2 separate regions of the Homo sapiens genome follow, and region 1 is linked to region 2. The links are contacts of gene promoters, found by promoter capture Hi-C in human tissues and cell types (Jung and others, 2019). All regions are on one chromosome and are shown on one strand. The core of a region is centred on a gene start or on the middle of the fragment in contact, and the rest is flanking DNA. Distances in the headings are between cores, read along the strand shown.

Region 1 (5,136 bases), core at 1,774-4,273, 62 kb before region 2:
TTTGTCTACAAGTATTTATCCCATTACATTTACCTAATTATTTTATTTTAATTGTTTACCTAGATTATTTATGAAAACTATGATAGTCATGATTTAAAGTTGTGAAACCACCATTGCAAAATTATAACTAAGACACTGAAAAAAGATTTGCCCTAACTGGCTCCATCTTGCTCATAACCTCTAAGCTGTCCTTGTTCATTCCTGGGCGTAGGCCGAGCTAACTTTGGGAAGGAATTCAGCTCAAGGTTTGACTCTGAAACAAAATTGGTAACAGCCCTTTCCCAAAAAGACCCCACTTCTTACCTGGGGTCCAGTCTGCCTTTCTAGGACTAACCAATTAGCTACGAGATTGGAAATAACAGTTTAGGGATAATGCAGCCTCCCTCTCCAAGAGTCTAAACCTCACCAAATTGCTCCTGGGGATAACATCACTATTGTAAAACCTAAGATCAGTGCACTTGATGGATCAGTGGACACCACTCAGATCGGTAATCTGGCCCAACCAGTTGTGCCATCGCACACAGTAACAGAAGACATTAAGAAAACCTAACTTTGACCCACTATGATTTCATTGTGTCCGGAATTGGTGGGTTCTTGGTCTCACTGACTTCAAGAATGAAGCCGCGGACCCTCGTGGTGAGTGTTACAGTTCTTAAAGGCAGTGTGTCCGGAGTCTATACTAGAAATCATTCTTATAGGAGAAACTAGAAAAGCACCAGAGACAGGTAGCAATTTTTAGAAGCGGGACTAAACTCAGAGAAGAGAGGAGAGAGGAAGTTTGTCTGGCAGGCATTAGGAACCAGGGGGCAAGGCTCAGGATAGATAGGATAGATGGGCGAGTCTCGCTTGGGCGACATGCCTTTGAGAGTTCCGCTCATGGTCGCAGGGTCAACCAACTTGTTGTCGGGACCCCGGAGGTGCATGGCTTTCCTCTCTGTTGACCCTCGGCTCAGCCCAGAAGTACAGGAAAAGCAAAAGCTGGTTCTAGGCAAACCAATGGTCTCAACACCGAAGAGTCGGGAGTTGTTAGAAAGCCCTTTCCCAGAAAGCCTGACACCCTTGTCTTTAGTCCGGCAGCCGCGCTAGTCACTTTTAACTGGCCGACAGGTGCCCAGTATTTAGCCCCCGAACTCTAAGCAAAGACAGGACAGAATAGCAAGCGAAAGGGGTCCGATGGTACTCACTGCTTGGCGATAGGTGATTGTCTCGCCGCTCAGCTATAGGCGATGGTCTCACCACTCGGTGATAGGCGATTGTCCCATCTAGGTCGCCAAAATGTGTCTGGAATTGGTGGGTTCTTCGTCTCACTGACTTCAAGAATGAAGCCGCGGACACTCGCAGTGAGTGTTGCAGTTCTTAAAGGCGGCATGTCTAGAGTTTGTTCCTTCTGATGTTCGGATGTGTTCACAGATTCTTCCTTCTGGTGGGGTTCGTGGTCTCGCTGGCTCAGGAGTGAAGCTGTGGACCTTCGCGGTGTTACAGCTCATAAAGGCAGTGTGGACCCAAAGAGTGAGCAGCAGCAAGATTTATTGCAAAGAGCAAAAGAACAAAGCTTCCGCGGTGTGGAAAGGGACCCAAGCAGGTTGCCACTGCTGGCTCAGGCAGCCTGCTTTTATTTTCTTATCTGGCCCCACCCACATCCTGCTGATTGGTCCATTTTACAGAGAGCCGAGTGGTCTGTTTTGACAGGGCGCTGATTGGTGAGTTTACAATCCCTGAGCTAGACATAAAGGTTCTCCAAGTCCCCACCAGAGTAGCTAGATACAGAGTGTCGATTGGTGCATTCACAAACCCTGAGTTAGACACAGGGTGCTGATTGGTGTGTTTACAAACCTTGAGCTAGATACAGAGTGCTGATTGGTGTATTTACAATCCCCTAGCTAGACATAAAGGTTCTCCAAGTCCCCACCAGACTCAGGAGCCCAGCTGGCTTCACCCGGTGGATCCCGCACCAGGGCCGCAGGTGGAGCTGCCTGCCAGTCCTGTGCCCTGCGCCCACACTCCTCAGCCCTTGGGTGGTCGATGGGACTGGGTGCTGTGGAGCAGGGGGTGGCGCTCGTCGGGAGGCTCGGGCCGCACAGGAGCCCACGGGGCGCAGGGGGGTGGGGGGAGCTCAGGCATGGCGGGCTGCAGGTCCAGAGCCCTGCCCCGAGGGAAGGCAGCTAAGGCCCGGTGAGAAATTGAGCGCAGCAGCTGCTGGCCCAGGTGTTAAGACCCCTCACTGCCCGGGACCGGTGGGGCCTGCCGGCTGCTCCCAGTGTGGGGCCCACCGAGCCCACACCCACCGGAAACTCGTGCTGGCCCACAAGCACCACGCACAGCCAGGGTTCCCACCCGCGCCTCTCCCTCCACACCTCCCTGCAAGCTGAGGGAGCCGGCTCTGGCCTTGGCCAGCCCAGAAAGGGGCTACCACAGTGCAGCGGCGGGCTGAATGGCTCCTCAAGTGCTGCCAAAGTGGGAACCCAGGCAGAGGAGGCGCCAAGAGCGAGTGAGGGCTGCGAGGACTGCCAGCACGCTGTCACCTCTCACCATCTCCAACTTGACCAATCAACACTCCCTACTTTCCAAGCCCCTACCTGCCAAATTATATTTAAAAACTCTGATCCCCAAAGGCTCAGGGAGATCGATTTGAGTAATAATAAAACTCCAGTCTCCCGCACAATGGCTCTGGGTGAATTACTCTTTCTCCATTGCAATTCTCCTATCTTGATAAATCAGTCTGTCTTGGCAAAGTGAACCCATTGGTTGTTTACAGTACATTTTATAGATTTACAAAGACTCCCTCCTTTTTTTTCCTATCTTAGACTTTCGGTTTCTCGATAACCTGTTTCATAGCCCTAGGCAGTTGTCAGCTAAATAGTCTAAAATTTTCACATTAAAGGAAACAACTCAGGTGAAAATCAAATAGCAAAATTTACGTTATAAAATAGAAAGAGAAAAAAATCTGGCAGTGCTAGAAGGAGACACTTTTATTTTTCTTTGAGCCAAATTAAACATAAAATTAAACTACACTCTTCCTTAAAATCCCTAGAGTAGATTCTGTTGCAATAACTAGTTTAGTAAAAAAAAAAAAAAAAAAATCAGGTGAAAACAGAATTCAGTTAACTGAGAAAAAAAAAGAAAAAAAATAAACTTTTGCTCCAAAAGACAAGGTCTTAGGAGAGAAAAACAAACCAACAAACAAAACCAAAAACATGAAGGCCTTTCAAACATGCACACATGCACACATACACACACACACACACATCTTGGATGTTAGCCTTTTAATTAAGCTGACTTTTATCCAGTCCAAACTCAGCCTCCAGCAATTGTTAAAATTACCAGTTTATTGTGCCAGTGGCTTCTGCTCTAGGTAAGCATATTTCTTCTGTGACTCTAGATTGTCTGTCTCTTCAGATATGGGGATTTGCCCTACAAACTCCATTATCTGATGGGTTTAAGAAAAGCTGTTGATTTTCTTTGTCCAGTTTCTCTTGTTGTAAGGATTATGACTTCCATGCTCTTTACATGCTGGAGCTGAAACTGGAAGTCTTAGGGGTTGGTATTTGGGCATGTTGAATTTGACGAGTTCATTAGACTCTTGCTTCTCAAAGTGTGGTTCATGGACCTGCAGCACTGGCATCATCTGCGAGCCAGTGAGGAAATGCAGAATTTCAGACCCACCCAGACTTATAGAATACAGATTTTTCCTTTTAAAAAAATCTCCAGATGATTTTTCTGTGCATAAACATTTAAGAAGTTGCTATATTAACCATCTAAGTGGAAATGTGGCATAGATTATTGTATATACTGTTAGGCAGAGAGGTTCAAGCCAGAGACACACATTTCTGAGTTTTTGTCATGTTGGCACTATTTTAAGCCATGAAACAGATTCCCTGACCTACATCATGGACTTTAGTATCAGTGCACTCCAACTAAACCACAGGAACACATCTGTAGATGAACAAGTTGTGTTTGTTGCTTAACGCATTGAGAGAGAACATACATGATACAGAACCTTGGGGTATCTCAGAAAAAAAAAGCAGTGTTAAAAAGAACTTATTGTATGATTGGGGTTTGTGTTAGGTGATTTGTGGGGGATGTTTAAGGAAGCAGGGCTTTGCTCTGGATCAAAGGCAGTGAGAAAGTGGGGGAAATTTATGATTGGGTATCTTAATAAATGTAATCTATAAGAAAAGAAGAATGAAATAAAGCTAAAGCTATAATTGGTAAAGAGTAAAACAAAGCTAGAGCCATAAAATATAGTCAGGGAATGTGTGGTTATTTTTGAGATTTGGAGAATGTTCATGTTTCTCATGTATACTGTAAACCAAAAATAAAATTCTAAGGTCCCCCAACCATCTGAAAGGACTTCCTCCTCAGCCAAGGCTCTTTTAAAATTTTACCTGGAGACTGTTTCAGGCCTTGAAGGGCAGCGGGGGTTGGACATGCCTCATTACACCTCTCAACATTAACACCAACACAGACTTTAAGTCTGATAAGAAACATTTTTACAACCTATTGTTTCTGAAGCCTACTACCTAAAAGCTTCCTCTGTAAATAACTTGGGTCTCCACAATTCTTTATCTTAACCCAGACCTGCCTTTCTGTTGATCCAAGGTCTTTATACAAATTCAACCAATTGTCAACCAGAAAATGTTTAAATTTACTTATAGCCTGGAAGCCCCCACTCGGCATTGTCCCGCCTTTCTGACCAAACCAATGTATTTCTTAAATGTATTTGATTGATGTCTCATGCCTCCGTAAAATGGTATAAAACCAAGCTGCACCCCAACCACCTTGGGCACATGTTCTCAGGTCCTCCTAAGGGTTGTGTCACAGGCCATGGTTACTCATATTTGGTTCAGAATAAATGTCTTCAAATATTTTACGGAGTTTGACTCTTTTCATCAACAATATTCAGACATTTTCTGGAGTGGTATTGTTTTTCTTCTGGCTCCATTAGGGTCACAGAGTGGTGCTGTCTGATGTTGGTGTTCTGGGAGATTGTTTATGCCAAGGAGGAGGACACCAGGGCCTAGCTGTGAGTGCCAGGCCAGCTCCTAGTTGGGCAAAGCTTAGCCACTAGTACCAGGACAGCTCCTGGATGTTGGGGGGCTGCTTTTCTCTTTCTTACTGTTCAGTGTCTTCCCACTA
Region 2 (4,569 bases), core at 473-2,972:
CAGTTTTCTGTACCAAGCCATTTAGTTAAGATTATTACCAGCTGGTGAGAGAAGCTCCTCCACTGTCTGCCTTAACATAGGTCATTTCAATTAACCTGAGATTTTCAGATGAGGAAACTGAAGCTGGGCTGAAGTATCTTACTTGAGGTCATTTGGTAGCATCAGATTTTTCCCTAGCACTCCTTATTCTCCTTCTCTGCTTTATTTTTCTCCATAGCATTCACCACTAATATTGTGTATTTCATTTTTCATTTTTATATTTTCAGTTTCCCCAAGTAGAATGTAAGTTGCATGATGGTAGGTGTTTTGTTCTCTGCGGTATTCCCAGTGAGTAGAACAGAACTTGGCACAGACTGCTGTATTCCCAGTGAGTAGAACAGAACTTGGCTCATTCAATAATATTTCCTAAATGAAGGAATTGTTCAAATATCGCATGCTTTCTTCTATACCAATCTATTTCAACAAGTGGCCTTCAGCAAATACACAACGTTTTGAGGTATTTGAGAGAAAAAAAATTATACTAACACAAAGTGTCAACTGTTATCAGGATTTTCTTCAGCTAAAAAAAAAAGCCATTTCATACTTTTAGACATATACTTCCTGACTAAAAACAGGGTTTTAAGAAAAAGTCTTCCACCTTAAAATTCATATCCACTTCAAAGAGAAAAATTTCAGTCTAATGATAAACTGGGGTACTTTCTATTTACTAAGACTAATCTTTGCCTCTGAAGACAGGTTTAGTTATGGTTTGTTTATTTGATGATTAAAACAAAGTTATTAGCCCCTGTTAGGCTCTGCTAGTTATTTGCATATAGCAATACAGAATGATCTGGTAAAGTTTTTATGCAGATTTGGTCCAAGCTCATAAAACAGATAAATTCTTCCAAATTAAATTCTTATTTTTGTTTACTTAAATTTGGCATGCTAGATATCATGTTTCATATCATAAAGCTGCAATTAATCATTTGTTAGACTTTTAGAAATAGTCATGCACCACATAATAATGTTTGAGTAAATGACAAACTGCATATGTGATGGTGGTCCCATAAGATTATAATAACATATTTTTACTGTACATTTTCTATGTTTGCATATGTATAGATACAGAAATATCATTGTGTTACAATTGTCTATAGCATTCAGCATAGTTATAGACTGTACAGGTTTGTAGCCTAGGAGCAATAGGTATACCATATAGCCTACCTAGATGTATAGTAGGCTATATCATATAAGTCTGTGTAAGTACACTCTGTGATAGTCACACAATGACAAAATAGCCTAACAATGCATTTCTCAGAACGTATCCCTGTCATTAAGAATGACTGTAGTAAAAAGCTACATGTTTTGATTCATTTTACATAATTCTTATCCTGATTTACTAAAAGTGCACTGTTTGCAGGACACTGTGCTGTGACATATTGTCAGAGGAACAAAGGGAGCATTTAGACACGTTCTCTGCCCTCCTGGAATTTACACAATGAATGGAAAAAGGCACAGAGTTATGCACACCCTAATGCCTCCAACAATAACTGTTGACTTTTTATTTTCAGTCAGAGAAGCCTGGCAACCAAGAACTGTTTTTTTGGTGGTTTACGAGAACTTAACTGAATTGGAAAATATTTGCTTTAATGAAACAATTTACTCTTGTGCAACACTAAATTGTGTCAATCAAGCAAATAAGGAAGAAAGTCTTATTTATAAAATTGCCTGCTCCTGATTTTACTTCATTTCTTCTCAGGCTCCAAGAAGGGGAAAAAAATGAAGATTTTGATACTTGGTATTTTTCTGTTTTTATGTAGTACCCCAGCCTGGGCGAAAGAAAAGCATTATTACATTGGAATTATTGAAACGACTTGGGATTATGCCTCTGACCATGGGGAAAAGAAACTTATTTCTGTTGACACGTAAGTCACTATTTTTATTGTTTATAGACCAAAATTTTAAGTTATTTTTAAAGGATAGAGCCAATAAGATGAAATATTTTTAAAATTTCTTATATACAGAAACTGCAAAATGTGGGCTTGAAACCCAAGACACTTGAATCAATCTCCTTTATATTCCTGTATATTTTTTATTTGGTGGACTACCCTGCTTCTTTCCTGTTGTTCCTGGGGATCTGTGTTCACATCTTACTACCTCCCATGGTCGTAACTGCATCTCCGATTAGGAATCTGTCTTTTTATGTGTTTATGCAGAAGTTCTTTCATTTAAACAATTACTGTATACAATGTTATGTTTATTGCACCATTTAATGGTTATTCATGATAGGCATAAAATTTTTTTATATCTTTCAAAACATCACTTATAGAAATAAAATACAATTTTAGCAAATAAGATCCTGCCTGATATTTATTGAGAGACTCCAGACAGTTAAGTAGGTTAATCTTTCACAGCTTCAGGGTCCTAATTTGTAAAATGAGGATAATAAGCATAGCTCATAGGGTTATTTAAAGAGCGGGTGCATGTAAAGCTCTTAGTACAATGCTTGGCACATATGTGCATAAAAAAATGTCAGGTACTTATTAGGATGGTCCTCAAAAAGCTCCATGTAACTTAAATGTCTTCATTTTTCAGTTGGAAAATCCCCTTATTGAAAGCAATATTCACTACACAGTAAAACAAAAAGTTTAGTTCTCCTTGAAGTTTTTTGTACAGAAGTTTATCTATACTGAGGTCTTCACTTTTAATGATGTTAATTAAACATTAACCACCAAATGGGAACTTGGAATTCAAAATCAATATTCACTACATTAAAATGTATTTCAGTGGTAATAAAACACAAACAAGCCCAATGACCATCAGCTGCCAAGATTATATCTTTAAAAAACAGCTAAATAAGGATGCCGAAGTTTGTAATTATTGAATCTTATTGATGAGTATATACTATTTTCTTTAACATTATGTAAAGTTGAAATTTTTCACCATAAAAATAAATACATAACAGATACTAATATCCAATTATTATATTATGAATTTAATAATATACAATAAAGAAAGTTTCTGACCTGAAGATAAGTGGTTGTAAATAAAACTAATACATCTTGTAATTATTTCTTTTTTAACCTGGTTTTAAGGTGGTATTATCTTCTAAGGAATATGACATATTTTTACAGCTTCACCAGAAACATTATTTTGCATGGATTCAGTATTTTCTTGATTAAATATAATATAAATTATATGTGGTTTTTATTTCCAAGGAAAAAGTCAGACACATTAAAAAAATAAAAATACTATCCTTCTCTATGCCCCCACTCACCACCACTCTGCCATTGTTCGTGATCAAAAATCAAATCAGCTTTATCAGGCATAAACTAAGTGCAAGACATTGCCCTGAATATGCTTCAAAAAAAAATCTTTAATTCTAAAAATCAGGGAGTAGAAGAGTGAAGGAGTTTGTTTAGAATTTGGTGAATGGGGGCGGAGGAAATTCCTTTGTTTTTAATTACTCCTGTGGCCTGTCTGTGCCAGGGAAGCTACCCAATGAGTATAAGCCTGTTTACCCCATTGTGACTATATTAGTCTCTTCTTATGCTGCTAATAGAGACATACTCAAGACTGAGTAATTTATAAAGAAAAAGAGGTTTAATGGACTCACAGTTCCACATGACTGGGGAGGCCTCACAATCATGGTGGAAGGCAAAGGAGGAGCAAAGGCATGTCTTACATTGCAAACTTTCCCATACCTTCCTGTCATCTGAGCCCTCCAAGTCTCTAGGAAGTTCCAAACTTTCCCACATCTTGCTATCTTCTTCTGAGCCCTCCAAACTATTCCAGCCTCTGCCTGCTACCCAATTCCAAAGTCACTTTCACATTTTTGGGTACCTTTACAGTAGTGCCCCACTCCAGGTACCAATTTACTGTATTAGTCTGTTCTTACACTGCTAATAAAGACATACTCAAGACTGGGTAATTTATAAAGAAAAAGAGGTTTAATGAACTTACAGTTCCACATGGCTGGGAAGGCCTCACAATCATGGCAGAAGGCAAAGGAGGAGCAAAGGCACGTCTTACATGGCAGCAGCCAAGAAAGAGCTTGTGCAGGGGAACTCTCATTTATAAAACCATCAGATCTCATGAGACTTATTCACTACCATGAGAACAATATGGGGGAAACCACATCCATGATTCAGTTACCTCCACCTGGCCCCCTCCCTTGACATGTGGGGATTATTACAATTCAAGGTGAGATTTGGGTGGGGACACAGCCAAACCATATCAGTTACTTAAAAAGTATACTTAATAGAGATACTTAAGGCTCCTTAAAAGGAAAAATGGAGCATCTTCTAGTTGCAAAGTCCACCTCTCTTTTTGTTATTGTCCTGTGACTTTAACATCTCCTCTGGCTTCAACAATATGCTACAGTTTTGCAAACTCTAGGTGGGACTGCTTTCTCTGTGATTTTTTTCCCCCATATATCTTACCAGTGAATTTTGAATACAGCTTCAGCAATTTTGCCAATACTATGCTAAACTTTTTGCATAGATGTGTGCAGATAGCAACCTTTTGGTCCCTTCTTTGTCCCAGATTTGCAGCATGTTTAGCCCAGTCAGTGAAGGATGATGGAGTATC

The links. Contacts are between HindIII fragments. The study calls those that stand out against the background at their distance.
Region 1: a fragment that was not itself captured here is called in contact with the fragment with the promoter of CP in region 2 in 1 of the 25 tissues and cell types used here (spleen).

Annotation. Positions count from the first base shown.
Region 1 is chr3:149,281,231-149,286,366 of GRCh38, reverse strand. TM4SF18-AS1 (TM4SF18 antisense RNA 1) reads right to left here and starts at 1,588. Exons shown (of 2, transcript NR_186251.1): 1 at 1,185-1,588. The HindIII fragment of the contact is 4,643 bases long and covers 702-5,136 here.
Region 2 is chr3:149,218,982-149,223,550 of GRCh38, reverse strand. CP (ceruloplasmin) reads left to right here and starts at 1,722. Exons shown (of 19, transcript NM_000096.4): 1 at 1,722-1,904. The coding sequence starts at 1,759. The HindIII fragment of the contact is 15,133 bases long and covers 1-4,569 here.